4 separate regions of the Homo sapiens genome follow, and regions 2, 3 and 4 are each linked to region 1. Evidence: promoter capture Hi-C in human tissues and cell types (Jung and others, 2019). All regions are on one chromosome and are shown on one strand. The core of a region is centred on a gene start or on the middle of the fragment in contact, and the rest is flanking DNA. Distances in the headings are between cores, read along the strand shown.

Evidence for each region. Contacts are between HindIII fragments. The study calls those that stand out against the background at their distance.
Region 2: a contact is called between a fragment that was not itself captured here and the fragment with the promoter of LONP2 in region 1, in 1 of the 25 tissues and cell types used here (spleen).
Region 3: a fragment that was not itself captured here is called in contact with the fragment with the promoter of LONP2 in region 1 in 1 of the 25 tissues and cell types used here (spleen).
Region 4: a fragment that was not itself captured here is called in contact with the fragment with the promoter of LONP2 in region 1 in 1 of the 25 tissues and cell types used here (hippocampus).

The regions. Positions count from the first base shown.
Region 1 is chr16:48,243,030-48,246,317 of GRCh38, forward strand. LONP2 (lon peptidase 2, peroxisomal) reads left to right here and starts at 1,271. Exons shown (of 15, transcript NM_031490.5): 1 at 1,271-1,592. The coding sequence starts at 1,360. All of the region lies in intron 1 of ABCC11 (ATP binding cassette subfamily C member 11), which reads right to left. RefSeq lists an enhancer at 1,207-1,296. The HindIII fragment of the contact is 28,002 bases long and covers 1-3,288 here.
Region 2 is chr16:48,437,276-48,440,586 of GRCh38, forward strand. No RefSeq gene overlaps it. Among named protein-coding and RNA genes, the nearest start is that of SIAH1, 54 kb to the left of the region's middle. The HindIII fragment of the contact is 6,532 bases long and covers 1-3,311 here.
Region 3 is chr16:48,386,518-48,389,629 of GRCh38, forward strand. It overlaps a transcript of SIAH1 not described here. Among named protein-coding and RNA genes, the nearest start is that of SIAH1, 2.7 kb to the left of the region's middle. The HindIII fragment of the contact is 6,781 bases long and covers 1-3,112 here.
Region 4 is chr16:48,487,879-48,491,187 of GRCh38, forward strand. No RefSeq gene overlaps it. Among named protein-coding and RNA genes, the nearest start is that of SIAH1, 100 kb to the left of the region's middle. The HindIII fragment of the contact is 3,451 bases long and covers 1-3,091 here.

The DNA.
Region 1 (3,288 bases), core at 21-2,520:
CCCTAGAACTTAAACTATAATAAAAAATAAAATTAAATTAAAAACAGAAAAAAAATAAAAGTATCAAGGTTGTAAAAAAAAAAAAAATTGGACGGGCGCAGTGGCTCAGGCCTGTAATCCCAGCACTTTTGGGAGGCCAAGGCGGGCAGATCACGAGGTCAGGAGATTGAGACCATCCTGGCTAACATGGCGAAACCCCGTCTCTACTAAAAATACAAAAAATTAGCCGGGCGTGGTTGCGGGTGCCTGTAGTCCCCAGCTACTCGGGAGGCTGAAGCAGGAGAATGGCATGAACCCGGGAGGCGGAGCTTGCAGTGAGCCGAGATCTCGCCACTACACTCCAGCCTGGGTGACAGAGCGAGACTCCGTCTCAAAAAAAAAAAAAAAAAAAAAAAATTGAGGACTTGCCACAGATTAGAGAACACCTAGGAGATTTCATAACAAAACACCTAGGAGATTTCACAACAGGATCCTGGATATTGGATCCTGGACCAGATCCAATGAAGGACATTAGTGGGAAAACTGGCAAAATTTGGGTAAGGCCTATAGGTTAAACGATAATAATGTTAATTTCCTGGTTTTGATCATTGAACTATGATTATGTAAGATGATAACAGACGAAACTGGGTGAAAGGTATATAGGAACTCTGCTGTAGTTTTGTACATCTAAAATCAATTCGGGCCGGGCACGTTGGCTCACGCCTGTAATCCCAGCACTTTGGGAGGCCGAGGTGGACGGATCGCTTGAGGTCAGGAGTTAAAGACCAGCCTGGCCAACATGGTGAAATCCCCTCCCTACTAAAAATACAACAATTAGCTGGGTGTGGTGGCGGGCATCTGTAATCCCAGCTACTCGGGAGGCTGAGGCAGGAGAATCGCTTGAACCCGGGAGGCAGAGGCTGCAAGCCGTGGGTATCGCGCCATTGCACTCCAGCCTCCGCGACAGAGCGAGAATCTGTCTCAGAATAAATAAATAAATAAATAAATAAATAATTAGTTCGAATCAAAAGTTAAAAACACTTCAAGTATATGTAAAAAATCGAAGAAAACGTTAAAAACACTTCAAGTATATACAATTCAAATAAGATCATCCTTCCAAATATACTCTGTAAGTGAGGCGAAGGTCGCTGCACGCTTGAGTGCACGTCTTTCCGCATAGGTAGGACGCTCAAGTCTTACCGGGAGGCTCTCCTAGAGAGCAGCGCGAAGCCATGGCTTTTGGGCCCGGGGACGGACCGTAGCGCGTAGCCGGAAGCGGAGGCGTGGAGGCGGGTCTGAGGTTTGGTGACTGCGGGGCAGGCCGGGGGCAGCTGTCTGTCTGGCTCTTTTTGACAGCCCCCAGTGCGAAAGGCTGCCAGCATGTCATCAGTGAGCCCCATCCAGATCCCCAGTCGCCTCCCGCTGCTGCTCACCCACGAGGGCGTCCTGCTGCCCGGCTCCACCATGCGCACCAGCGTGGACTCGGCCCGCAACCTGCAGCTGGTGCGGAGCCGCCTTCTGAAGGGCACGTCGCTGCAAAGCACCATCCTGGGCGTCATCCCCAACACGCCTGACCCCGCCAGCGACGCGCAGGACCTGCCGCCGCTGCACAGGTAGGCCTGGCTGCCCCCGCGGCGGCGGCGGGCGGCGCGGCCTCCTCCGGGGACCTGGGCCCAGGCCACGGCCTGCCTTGAGCGCGAGGCTCAGTTCGGGGCGGCCTTCGCGGCTCGGTTCCGCCTCTCTGGTGCTATCACTTGCAAAATGGGGATGTCAGATACCTGCCCCATGACCATGAATGAGATCGTTCATGAAGTAGTGCCTGACACCTGGTGAAACTACGCAGTTCCCTACCGTTCTGGATAATTTAATTTGAATCCTCTTCCCCCTCTCCGCAATTCCTCGCCCTCGGTCTTCAGCCTCCTAGGCCAGTGCTTTTAACTTTCCAGGCCCTTTCTTTCTCCCCGGTGATCTCTGCCTTCACTTGCCTTCGCTTTTCACCTTTCTCCCCACTGCCCTTTACTCCTATCCGCCTCCCCTTTTCTGTCACCCATCATTTTTGTCCGCTGAGGCATTCTCTGCTCCGTGAGTTTTAACTTTTCCTGTTTCATTCCTAAACTGCACTATTTGTGGGTGCCTTTCTTCTATACTCCCTGCCACCCTTCTCCTTCTCCCCCTAATCCTTCTGTTTCCCTTTGTAAAGGGCCTTTACTGCTCACATTTTCGCTGGTCCCCCTTTCTGGAACTTTCCTAGCTTCTCACCTCTGCTCCTTCACTCATAACATTTCTTAGGCCCCAGGCTTACTACTATATTGCCCAGTACCCTCGCCCTATTGGTGTGACTTTGGGTGAGAGCTTTAACCTCTATTTCTTTTATTCTGCAATTTGGAAACTGACAGCATCCATCTCTTAGGCAAGTTATGAAGAATAAATTGAATAATGTGTATATTCCACTTTGCACCATGCATGATGGATGACTTTGCTGTCCAGTACTGTGTAGTGCATGTGGCTCGTCAAATTGAGATGATAGAATTGCCAGTTGTCCTGGTTTGCTGCGATTGTCTGTTTTAGCATTGAAAGTCCTATGTTTTAGCCCCTCCGTCCCAGGGAAACCAGGAGGTTGGTCACCCTAAATGTGCTGTAAGTGTACAATACACGCCAGATTTTGAAAAAACTTTTTGATTAATACATTTTATATGGATTAAATGTTGGAAAGGTAATATTTTGAGTACTTGGGGTTAATAAAATGTTAAGATTTCTGCTGTTTTTACTTTATAATGTGGCCACTAAAATTTTATATGTGGTCCACATTATATTTTTATTGGACAATGCTGGTATATCGTATGCTCTCAACAAGTATCTTCAAACTCACCTGCCAAGCACCCGCCTCCTATTCCTAACTCTACTGGAGGTGTTGTGTTTTCAGTTTAGAGCTTCTCCTTTCCTGGCAGTTATCCCTTATTTTTAAATTAGGGGTTCCTGACTCTGAATGGATTTCCGGAGGGTTGGACATGTCTTATTTTTCCTCAAAATCTTGTGACTATGTACATTTTTTTAGGAGAATCCTTTGCTTTCTTCAGATTCTCAAAGGAGACTGGTACCTCCCCCCACCCCCGTTAAAAGAAAGCAAAACAAAGCAACAAAGACCAACAAACCTTCCACAGCAGCCCAGTATTCATTTATATTGTAAAAGCCTTGATTTTCTCAAGCATGGAAAATATTTTGGCTCCCATCTGACCTGCTTTGGTTATTGCCTGAGTGGAATTGGTCACATTCCAAGTTTCAGTACTCTTTGATAAATTGTATTGGATT
Region 2 (3,311 bases), core at 504-3,003, 190 kb after region 1:
GGCTTGGAACCATAGATGATACACAGCCACTGTGGAAGATGCAGAGCAAGAGGGGGGAAATGGTTGATCCCCACATCTCACCCTACCGTACTCTGGTCTTGTACCATTTTCTCCCAACACACAAAGCTATGGAGAGCCACTTGACAAGGGAGCCTGGGAAACACAGCTTCCTGCAATATAGAGCAGAACATTGGAAAGGCAGGGAATAAGCTGGGAGCAAACAGTGGGCCATCTGTGTAACACAAGGCTGCTGGATGAAATGGCTGGGAAGTAAGAAAGCACTGCAGAGAGGAGCTGAGGGGGCCATGGCAGGCTGGATCCCATTGAAAGCCTTACAGCAGTGTTTCCCAAAGTGTGGGATGCACTGGGCCACCTGAGCTGGCAAAAAGACCAGGCAGAGCATGAAGGAACAGTGTATCAGTAAGAAAGCTAGTCTATTTTCAATTCTCTTTCCCATCATCTGACGACATTAAGGAGAAAGTCTCTATTTGGTGCTAACCTGTCTTTAACATCACTCTAACATTTTCTAATTTCTTTTTTCTTTCTTTTTTTTTTTGAGACAGAGCTCTGTTGCCCAGGCTGGAGTGCAGTGGTGTGATGTAGGCTCACTGCAACCTGCAACCTCCATCTCCTGGGTTCAAGCAATTCTCCTGCCTCAGCCTCCTAAGTAGCTGGGACTACAGGCATGCACCACCACTCCCAGCTAATTTTTGTATTTTTAGTAGAGACGGGGTTTCACGCTAGCCAGGCTGGTCTCAAACTCCTGACCTCAAGTGATCCACCAGCCTCGACCTCCCAAAGTGCTGAGATTACAGGTGTGAGCCACCGTGCCTGGCCACGTTTTCTCATTTCTTTTTAACTCCAAAAGATAGCAAACCAGACAGGTGTGGTGGTTCACGCTTGTAATCTCAGCGCTTTGGGAGGCCTATGCGGGAGGATTGCTTGAGTCCAGGAGTTCAAGACCAGCCTGAGTATCATAGTGATGACCCCCATCTCTACAAAGAATAAAAAATTAGCTGGGCATAGTGATGTGTGCTTGTAGTCTTAGCTACTTGGGAGGCTGAGGCAGGAGGATCCCTTGAGCCTGGGAGTTTGAGGTTGCAGTGAGCCATGACTGTACCACTGCACATTCCAGCCTGGATGACAGAGTGACACCCTGTCTAAAGCAAAAAGAGAGGAAAACTTAGGTTAAAGCCTTTGGCTGGTACTGGTATAATAGATGCTGCTGGTCCTGCCTAATCCCCGTCACCTAGTTGATACATTCACCTCCCAGCTGCTGTGAATGTTGGCAGCTAGCACTTTACAGCCACACCCTTCTTTTGGAAATTGCCTCACCTGGAAATAGGTGGGAGATTATACCATCATCCCGAGAGGAAGTATGCGGCAACGACTGATTGATGCCAGGCACAAAAGCCCAGCCCTCATGCCTTGAGGTGGTTCAACTCTGGTCCCATTCCTGTTCCAGAGCTTCAGCTGGCCCCACGCCTTTGCTTAGCCTCTTTCTGTTTCCCTCCCTCCTTCACCAGGAGTCCCCCCTGTAAATCACTTGCACAAGAATCCCCACCTTATACTCAAGCCCTGGCTTGACTTCTAGAGAATCTAAGATAGCAGGCAACAGGAGCTAGCTGGAATTGTGTAACTTTAAAAATTATTCTTTTTAATATTTTTGCCTGTGTTGATTTATGATAAGGTATAAAGGTTTTCCATTTATAGTAGTGCTAAGTTTTCTGTAAGTGTAATATTATTTTTAATTTATATATATATATAATTAAATTATAAAGACCATGGGCAACATAGTGAGACCCATCTCTACAAAAATTAGCAGGGCGTAGTGGCATATACCTGTAGTCCTAGCTACTTGGGAGGCTAAGGCAGGAGGATCCCTTGAGCCTGGGAGGTCGAGGCTGCAGTGAGCTAGGACTACACCACTGCACTCCAGCCTAGGCAACAAAGTAAGACCCTGTCTCAAAAAAAAAAAAAAAAAAGGCAGGGGTTGGTAGAAAAAATAAAAAATAAAAAATAATTATCTGGGCATGGCGGCATATGCCTATACTACACTACTCAGGAGGCTGAGCTGGGAGGATCCCTTGAGTCTCAGGAATTCGAGGCTGAAATGAGCTATGATTGCACCACTGCACTCCAGCCTGGGAAACAGAGAAAGTCCCTTTCTCTAATAATATATATGTTATTTTTATTTTTATATTTTAATTTATATATAAATATATATAGGTCGAGTTCTGTGGCTCACGCCTGTAATCCCAGCATTTTGGGAGGCCGAGGCGGGCAGATCACCTATATTAGGAGTTTGAGACCAACTTGGCCAACATGGTGAAACCCTGTCTCTACTAAAAATACAAAAATTAGCTGAGCGTAGTGGTGCATGCCTGTAATCCCAGCTACTCGGGAAGCTGAGGCAGGAGAATCGCTTGAACCCGGGAGGCGGAGGTTGCAGTGAGCCGAGATCTCACCACTGCACTCCAGCCTGGGTGACAGAGCGAGACTCTGGCTAAATATATATAAAATATTTTTATAATTTTTATACTACTTATTTTTTATATTTTATAATATTTATTTTTATTCTATTTTTATAATAGTTGTATGTATTTTTATAATATTTAATATATACATATATAATTTTATATATGTAATAAAATAAAAAAAATAACTTTTTTTTTTGAGATGGAATCTCACTCTGTCGCCCAGGCTGGAGTGCAGTGTCGCGATCTCACTGCAGCCTCCGCCTCCCGATGTTGCTCACTGCAACCTCCGCCTCCCAAGTTCAAGCAATTCTTGTGCCTCAACCTTCTGAGTAGCTGGGATTACAGGCACATGCCACATCTGGCTAATTTTTGTATTTTTAGTAGAGATGGGGTTTCACCATGTTGGCCAAGTTGGTCTCAAACTCCTAGCTTCAAGTGATCCACCCGTCTCAGTCTCCCAAAGTGCCAGGATTACAGGTGAGTGCACCCGGCAGAAATGGACTATTAATACTTTCAAAAACTTGGATGGACCTCAAAAGCATTATGCTAAGAAACTCACAAAACTAGGTGCTGTGTGATTCTTCTTCTGTGAAACTTTAAAAAGGCAAAATTACAAGGACAGAAGGAAGATCAGCATTGCCAGGGGCTGGGAGGGGAGGAGAGGGACTGCAAAAGGGCATGGAGGACCTTCTTGGGTAACGGAAATATTCTATATATTGTAATTGTAGTGGAGGCTATAGACTACATACATTTATCAAAATGTATCAAACTATACACTTGAAATGGTAAATTTTAATGTACATAAATTATACCTTATAAAGCTGATTTTTT
Region 3 (3,112 bases), core at 151-2,650, 140 kb after region 1:
AATAAAAATAGAAAAATCCCATACCGGGCACGTATGTACAAATTCCCAGTGTATGATAAAGTTTATATGTGCAAAACACTAGTTTACAGTATTCCTAATTACATGATTTAAACTGCAATTTTACTTTCACATTTTTGGGGAGAAGTTATAGCTCCTCAGTACACGGGAAGGTCAATAGAGTTCGGTTCACTTCAGTTTAGAGGTAAATTTTCCATTTTTACAGACTATGTGCTTGGCATAGCCATGTGGCCTTGACCTGGTCGTGAAGGGCAGAGGAGTTCTGTCCTGGGCGAGGAGCAGCTCTGGGGTGAGATGTGTTTCTCGCCCCCAGAACCCCTGGGCCGCTCTGCAAGCAGTGAAATGGATACGGACTAAGAGAGAACTTGCCAACGTGGCGATTAAAGTTCTAAACACCCGGCTTTGCCAAAGTCAGATTTTGTCCTCCTTATCCCGCATCCCTTCCTCTACCCAACAGCATTTGTCCATCTGAAAATAACAGTCTGTCTCTGGCCCACTGCTGACAGTCGAGGACTTACCTTATAAACTAGTGGATTCTCTTAAACTGCAGGGGTGCCCAGGACACAGTGTCCCCTGAGGATGCCGCACACCAGTCTTGAAGTGCTGGATCGTTGACGTCAGGCACCCAGAAGCAACTTCTGCCTCTGGAATTCTCAAACGTGCTTTTCTTGGCTTAGTTTGTGCCTGCTCTCCTCTAGAAGAGTCCAAGTTACTTCTTACTTTCCCCACTTCCCTTTTATACAAAACAAATTTAATCGGGTTAATTCCATCTCTGAGAATTCCTACCTAGATTTGGGCGGGGCTCAATCTGATTTGGTTAATTCTGGGTGGTAGCTATGGGTGGGACATAAACATCACCATTATAAATTTAATTTACTCCCCCTCTCAAAAAAATGTACCTTCCATTTGAAAGAAAATAGCTCCACTGTGGGGGTAACTAAGCACCTTTTCTGAACAGGGAGTTGACTCTGCTTCCTTGACAGTTTATCCATAGAAAAGCATTTTGTAAACTGTAAAGCCTATCCAAATAATCCTCCAATTGATGGGATTTCAGTAACGGTGACAAATATTTTCAGGCCACATCTGGATAGGGAGCCTTCCTGGTCCCCTCAAATCACATCAAATGGTAATTCCATCTATTGCAATGGAACATAACGCTCTGGTCCTGCATCTGGCCCGTAGTTAAGGTACCAGTGATGTAAATTACTTTCCTCTTATGAATAAAACAGGCACTGGCCAGGCACGGTGGCTCACACCTGTAATCCCAGCACTTTGGGAGGCCAAGGCAAGAGGATCGCTTGAGGCCCAGAAGTTCCAGACCAACCTAAGAACATAGCAAGACCCCGTCCCTATAAAAAGTTTAAAAATTAGCCCGGCAGGGTGGTGTGCGCCTGTAATCTCATCTAATCAGGAGGCCAAAATGAGAGGATTGCTTGAACCTGGGAATTTGAGGCCATAGTGAGCTATGATTGTGCCCCTGCACTCCCATCTGGGTGACAGAGGGACACTCCATCTCTAAAAACATAAAAATAAATGAATAAATAAAACAGGCACTGATGAGAGTATCTTTATTTGGGGGTTTTGCTATGAATTTATATTAAATTGATATTTATTTATTTATTTATTTTGTAATCTCGGCTCACTGCAACCTCCATCTCCTGGGTTCAAGCGATTCTTGTGCCTCAGCCTCTCAGATAATGCTGTCAAAGTTGGCTAAACTAGTTAAGACTGAACAGATGATTTCCAAGTGTCTTCATGTCAATATAGTTATTTTACAATAGACCAGTTCACAAGACCAAACCCATCTATTGAATCACCGATGGGCTGTGTTTGTTTCCAGGCAATCACAGATGTCTCTTGCCCAGGAAACTATAGCTATCTCCTCTTACATTAAACCACTGATACCCATTTGTCATTCAGCTTAGGTGGATAGGTCTGGAAACATATTAGCATTCCCTTCCAAGCCTGGCTCTGCTGGTAGCGAAACAGAATCTTTTTCAGCCTGGAAACTGGAAGGCGGTTCCTCCCTCCCAAATAGACTCCTATAAGCTTTGCAAAGGAAAGCAGGTCCCCAACTTGTCAGACATGCCTACAGCAGAGCAGAAACAATGTTTTCTTTATCAGACACACCTGTTGCCAGTCACTGTCTGAGGTTGGTGAATGTGTTAAACAGTATCCCAAACAAATTTTCCTGGACATGGTGGAGAAGTTAGAGACACAACATGAGCATCCAAGAATGAAACAGGAAGTAGCTGAAGGAAGTTCCCAAAAGCCCAAGTGGTTGGGAAATGAGTTCGCCCATAACTGTAGTTTTCCTTCAATATAATCAAGTTTCTTTAGGAAAAAGGTTACATGCTAGGCATCACATTTTTCAAGAAGTTAGAGCCGGGCACGGTGGCTCACGCCTGTAATCCCAGCACTTTAGGAGGCCAATGCCTGCAGATCACCTGAGGTCAGGATTTGGAGACCAGCCTGGCCAACATGGTGAAACTTCGTCTCTACTAAAACTACAAAAATTAGCCAGGTGTGGTGGTGGATGCCTGTAATCTCAGCTACTCGGGAGGCTGAGGCAGGACAATCACTTGAACCCAGGAGGTGGAGGTTGCAGTGAGCAGAGATCACACCACTGCACTCCAGCCTGGGCAACAGAGCAAGATCCTTGTATCAAAAAAAAAAATTAGAAAATCATTGAGGTTTTTATGTAGCTGGTGGAAGTAGGTGATACTGACAATTAGTTTAAGTAATTGTTGTTCTTGAGTTCATTGGAATGCAGTGATAACTGTCCAGTGCATTAGGTACAACCCCTGCCTCATGCCCAACCCACAGATGCTCATTTCCATGGATCCAAATCTTTTCTTTACACTTGTCAGAATTTAGCCTTTTTCTTTTTTCTTTTTTTTTTTTTTTTCCAAGACGGAGTCTTACTCTGTCACCCAGGTTGGAGTGCACTGGTGAGATCTTGGTCACTGCAACCTCTGCCTCCCAGGCTCAAGCAATCCTCCCACCTCAGCCTCCTGAGTAGCTGGAAACACAGGTGCGTGCCACTGTGCCCAGCTAATTTTTTTGTATTTTTGGTGGAGACAGGGTTTCACCA
Region 4 (3,309 bases), core at 116-2,615, 240 kb after region 1:
CTCTTTCAGATGCAATGTACCGTCGTATATGTCACACCAGACTAATGTGTATGTTCAAGTACGAGGCTCTACAATGATTCTGTAACATCAACTATTAAACACCAATGGCCTAACTTTTTGGACCCTTGAATTAATTTCCCTACTTTACTCAATATATTTAAAATGACTTCCAACCTCATGCAATGGTGTGACATAGAACATGACATTTTCTCCTAGATCTCTATACTTTTCCATGATAAAACTACGTTGTTGAAATGTCCCATAAAGGAACACTTCAAATACACATACATATCACTACAAATATTGTGAAATAAAGCCCATCTTACAGAAGTGAAAACAAACAAATGAAGAAAATTTCCTTGACCTCATATTCCTTTCTACCTCTCATTTCTTTGTTTTCCTTTACATCTCAAAAGAGATATCTATACTATGCTCAGCAAGTCCTCCCATTCTCTCTTAAATATTCTCCAACACAGCATTTGTCTCTACCTGTTCACCAGAACTGCTCCAAGGTTACCAGTGACCATCCTATGGCCACATTGAATGACCACTCTCAGCTCTTGTCTCACTTTGCCTTCAGGAGCATTTGACAGTTGACTCCTCTCTTTCTTGCAAAGCTTTTCTTCGCTCAGCTTCCAGAACCCCATACTCTTGAGGTTTCCTATCTCTCTCGCTGCCCCTTCTCAGTCTCCTTTGTTTATTCCTCCTCAAAGCCCCAAGTCTTAAACTTTGGGGTGCCCCAGGGCTCAGTCTTTGGGATGTTTCTCTTCTCTATCTCTACTCCTTTGGTGATCTCAATTAATTTGCTTAAAAAAAAAAAAGACACAAGGTCTTGCTTTGTTGCTCATGCTGGAATGTAGCGGCACAATCATAGCTCATTGTAGCCTCAAGCTCCCGGGCTCAGGCAGGCACAGTGGGCTCACGCCTGTAATCCCAGCACTTTGGAAGGCTGAGGCAGGCGGATCACCTGAGGTCAGGAGTTCGAGACCAGCCTGGCCAACATGGTGAAACCCTGCCTCTACTAAAAATACAAACTTAGCCGGGTGTGGTGGTGCACACCTGTAATCCCAGCTACTCAGGAGGCTGAGGCAAGAGAATCACTTGAACCTGGGAGGTGGAGGTTTCAGTGAGCCGAGATCGTGCCATTGCACTCCAGTCTGGGGAAAAGAGGGAGAGTTTGTCTAAAAAAGAAAAAACCAAAAACCAAAAAACAAAACACACACACACACACACAAAACAAAACAAAACAAAACACCTCCTATGCTCAAGCAATTCTCTTGCTTCAGCCTCCCAAGTAGCTGGGACTACAAGTGCACACCACTGTGCCTGGCTGATTTTTCTTAGTTTTTGTTTGTAGAGATGGGGTCTTGCTACGTTGCCCAGGCTGGTGTCAAATTCCTGCCCTCAAACAATCCTCCCACCTTGGCCTCCCAAATACTGGGATTATAGGTGTGAGTCCCTGAGCCTGTTCTCAATTAATTTCAGGACTTTAAATACCAACAATACACCAATTACCCCTAGATTTATACCTCCAACTCAGACCTGTCTGTTGACCTCCAGACATATCTGAACTCCCGATCAATAATCCTAAGTTGGATATTCAGCTGATACCTCAGCATTAACAAGCACCCAAAGGAGACTCTTGATCTTCTTCGCCAAACCTGTTTCTCATTCAGCCTTCCTCTGAATAATGATAGTCAGCATTTACACAGTGCTTACTCCATGCTTTGCACTGTTCTAAGTGCTTTATGATAGTAACACATTCAAAACTCATGACAACTTTCTGAGGTGGCTGTTATTACTATCTCCATGTCCTAGGTTAGGAAACTGAGGCATCAAAAGGTTAAATGACAAGAAGTTAAGGACACAGGCATCATGTGGCAAAGCCCCTTTAGAATATAAGCTCCATGACAGCAGGAATGCTGTGTGATTTTTTTTTTTTTTTTTGAGACGGTCTCTCTCTGTTGTTCAGGCTGGGTGCAGTGGCACCATCTCAGCTCACTGCAGCCTCAACCTCCCCAGCTCAAGTGATCCTCCCACCTCAGCCTCCCGAGTAGCTGGAACCACAGGCGTGCACCACCATGCCCGGGTAATTTTTGTATTTTTTTGTAGAGATGGGGTTTCACGATGTTGCCCAGGCTGGTCTCAAAGTCCTGAGCTCAACTGATCCACCTACCTTGACTTCCCAAAGTGCTGGGATTACAGGCATGAGCCACTGCACCCAGCCACTGTGTGTCTTATTTGTTGCTGTAACCCCAGGTTCTAGTGGCTGGCACACAGTAGGTGATTAGTAAGTGGTTACTGATCAATAAATGAATGAATGATTGTACACATTTTAAGTTACATATGAATTATTACAATGAAGTATTACAGTTATTACTGGTGCATCCAGTAAGCTGGAACACTTTTGCCCAGAGTGAACCACGTGGCTTTTCAGGGCAGGCCATGGGTATATAGCCAGCAGTAAATGCAGAGGCTGCCTTCTCTTGATAGTGACCCATGATCACTGGGGATCTGGATACCCTGTTCCTTCTCACCCCTCTCCCTGTTTTGGGCCCTTAGGGATGGCTCAGGTTGACCAGGCAGTTGATATCACATCTGTAGTGCTGCTGTGCCCACCCCACTTTTTCAGCAGCACAATAATAACTGTTTTTGGGTTTTTTTGGGGGGTCACTGACAGTATGCCTGAAACTCTGCTAAGTGCTCCATATGGCTTAACTGAATTCTCTCATTAACCCTAAGTGATAGCACCCCCCCAACACACATTTTATTTTAAAACAAGAGTCTTGCTCTGTCCCCCAGGCTGGAGCGCAGTGGCACAGTCTCGGCTCACTGCACCTCTACCTCCTGGGTTCAAGGGATTCTCATGCCTCAGCCTCCCGAGTAGCTAGGATTACAGGCACGAGCCACCATACCATGCTTGGTTAACTTTTGTATTTTTAGTAGAGATGGGGTTTCACCCTGTTGGCCGGGCTGGTCTCAAACTCCTGACTTCAAGTGATCCACCTGCCTCAGCTTCCCAAAGTGCTGGGATTACAGGTGTGAGCCACTGCGCCTGGTGGTGACAGGCCTTCTTATTAACACCATTTTTCAGCTGAGGAAACTGAGGCTGAGATGTGTTAAGTAACTTGTCCAAGATCACACAGCTAAGTAGCAGATTATAAAGGACTTGGTCCATCCCGAGGCTGTCACTGACTGGTGCAGCCAAACTATTTCTCGTGATCTGAGTGGACAGAAAGGGAGGAGAATGTGCTGGGGAAGCCAGTTCCCACATTCACATCTCAACATCAGGAACCCAGTGATAGTTTT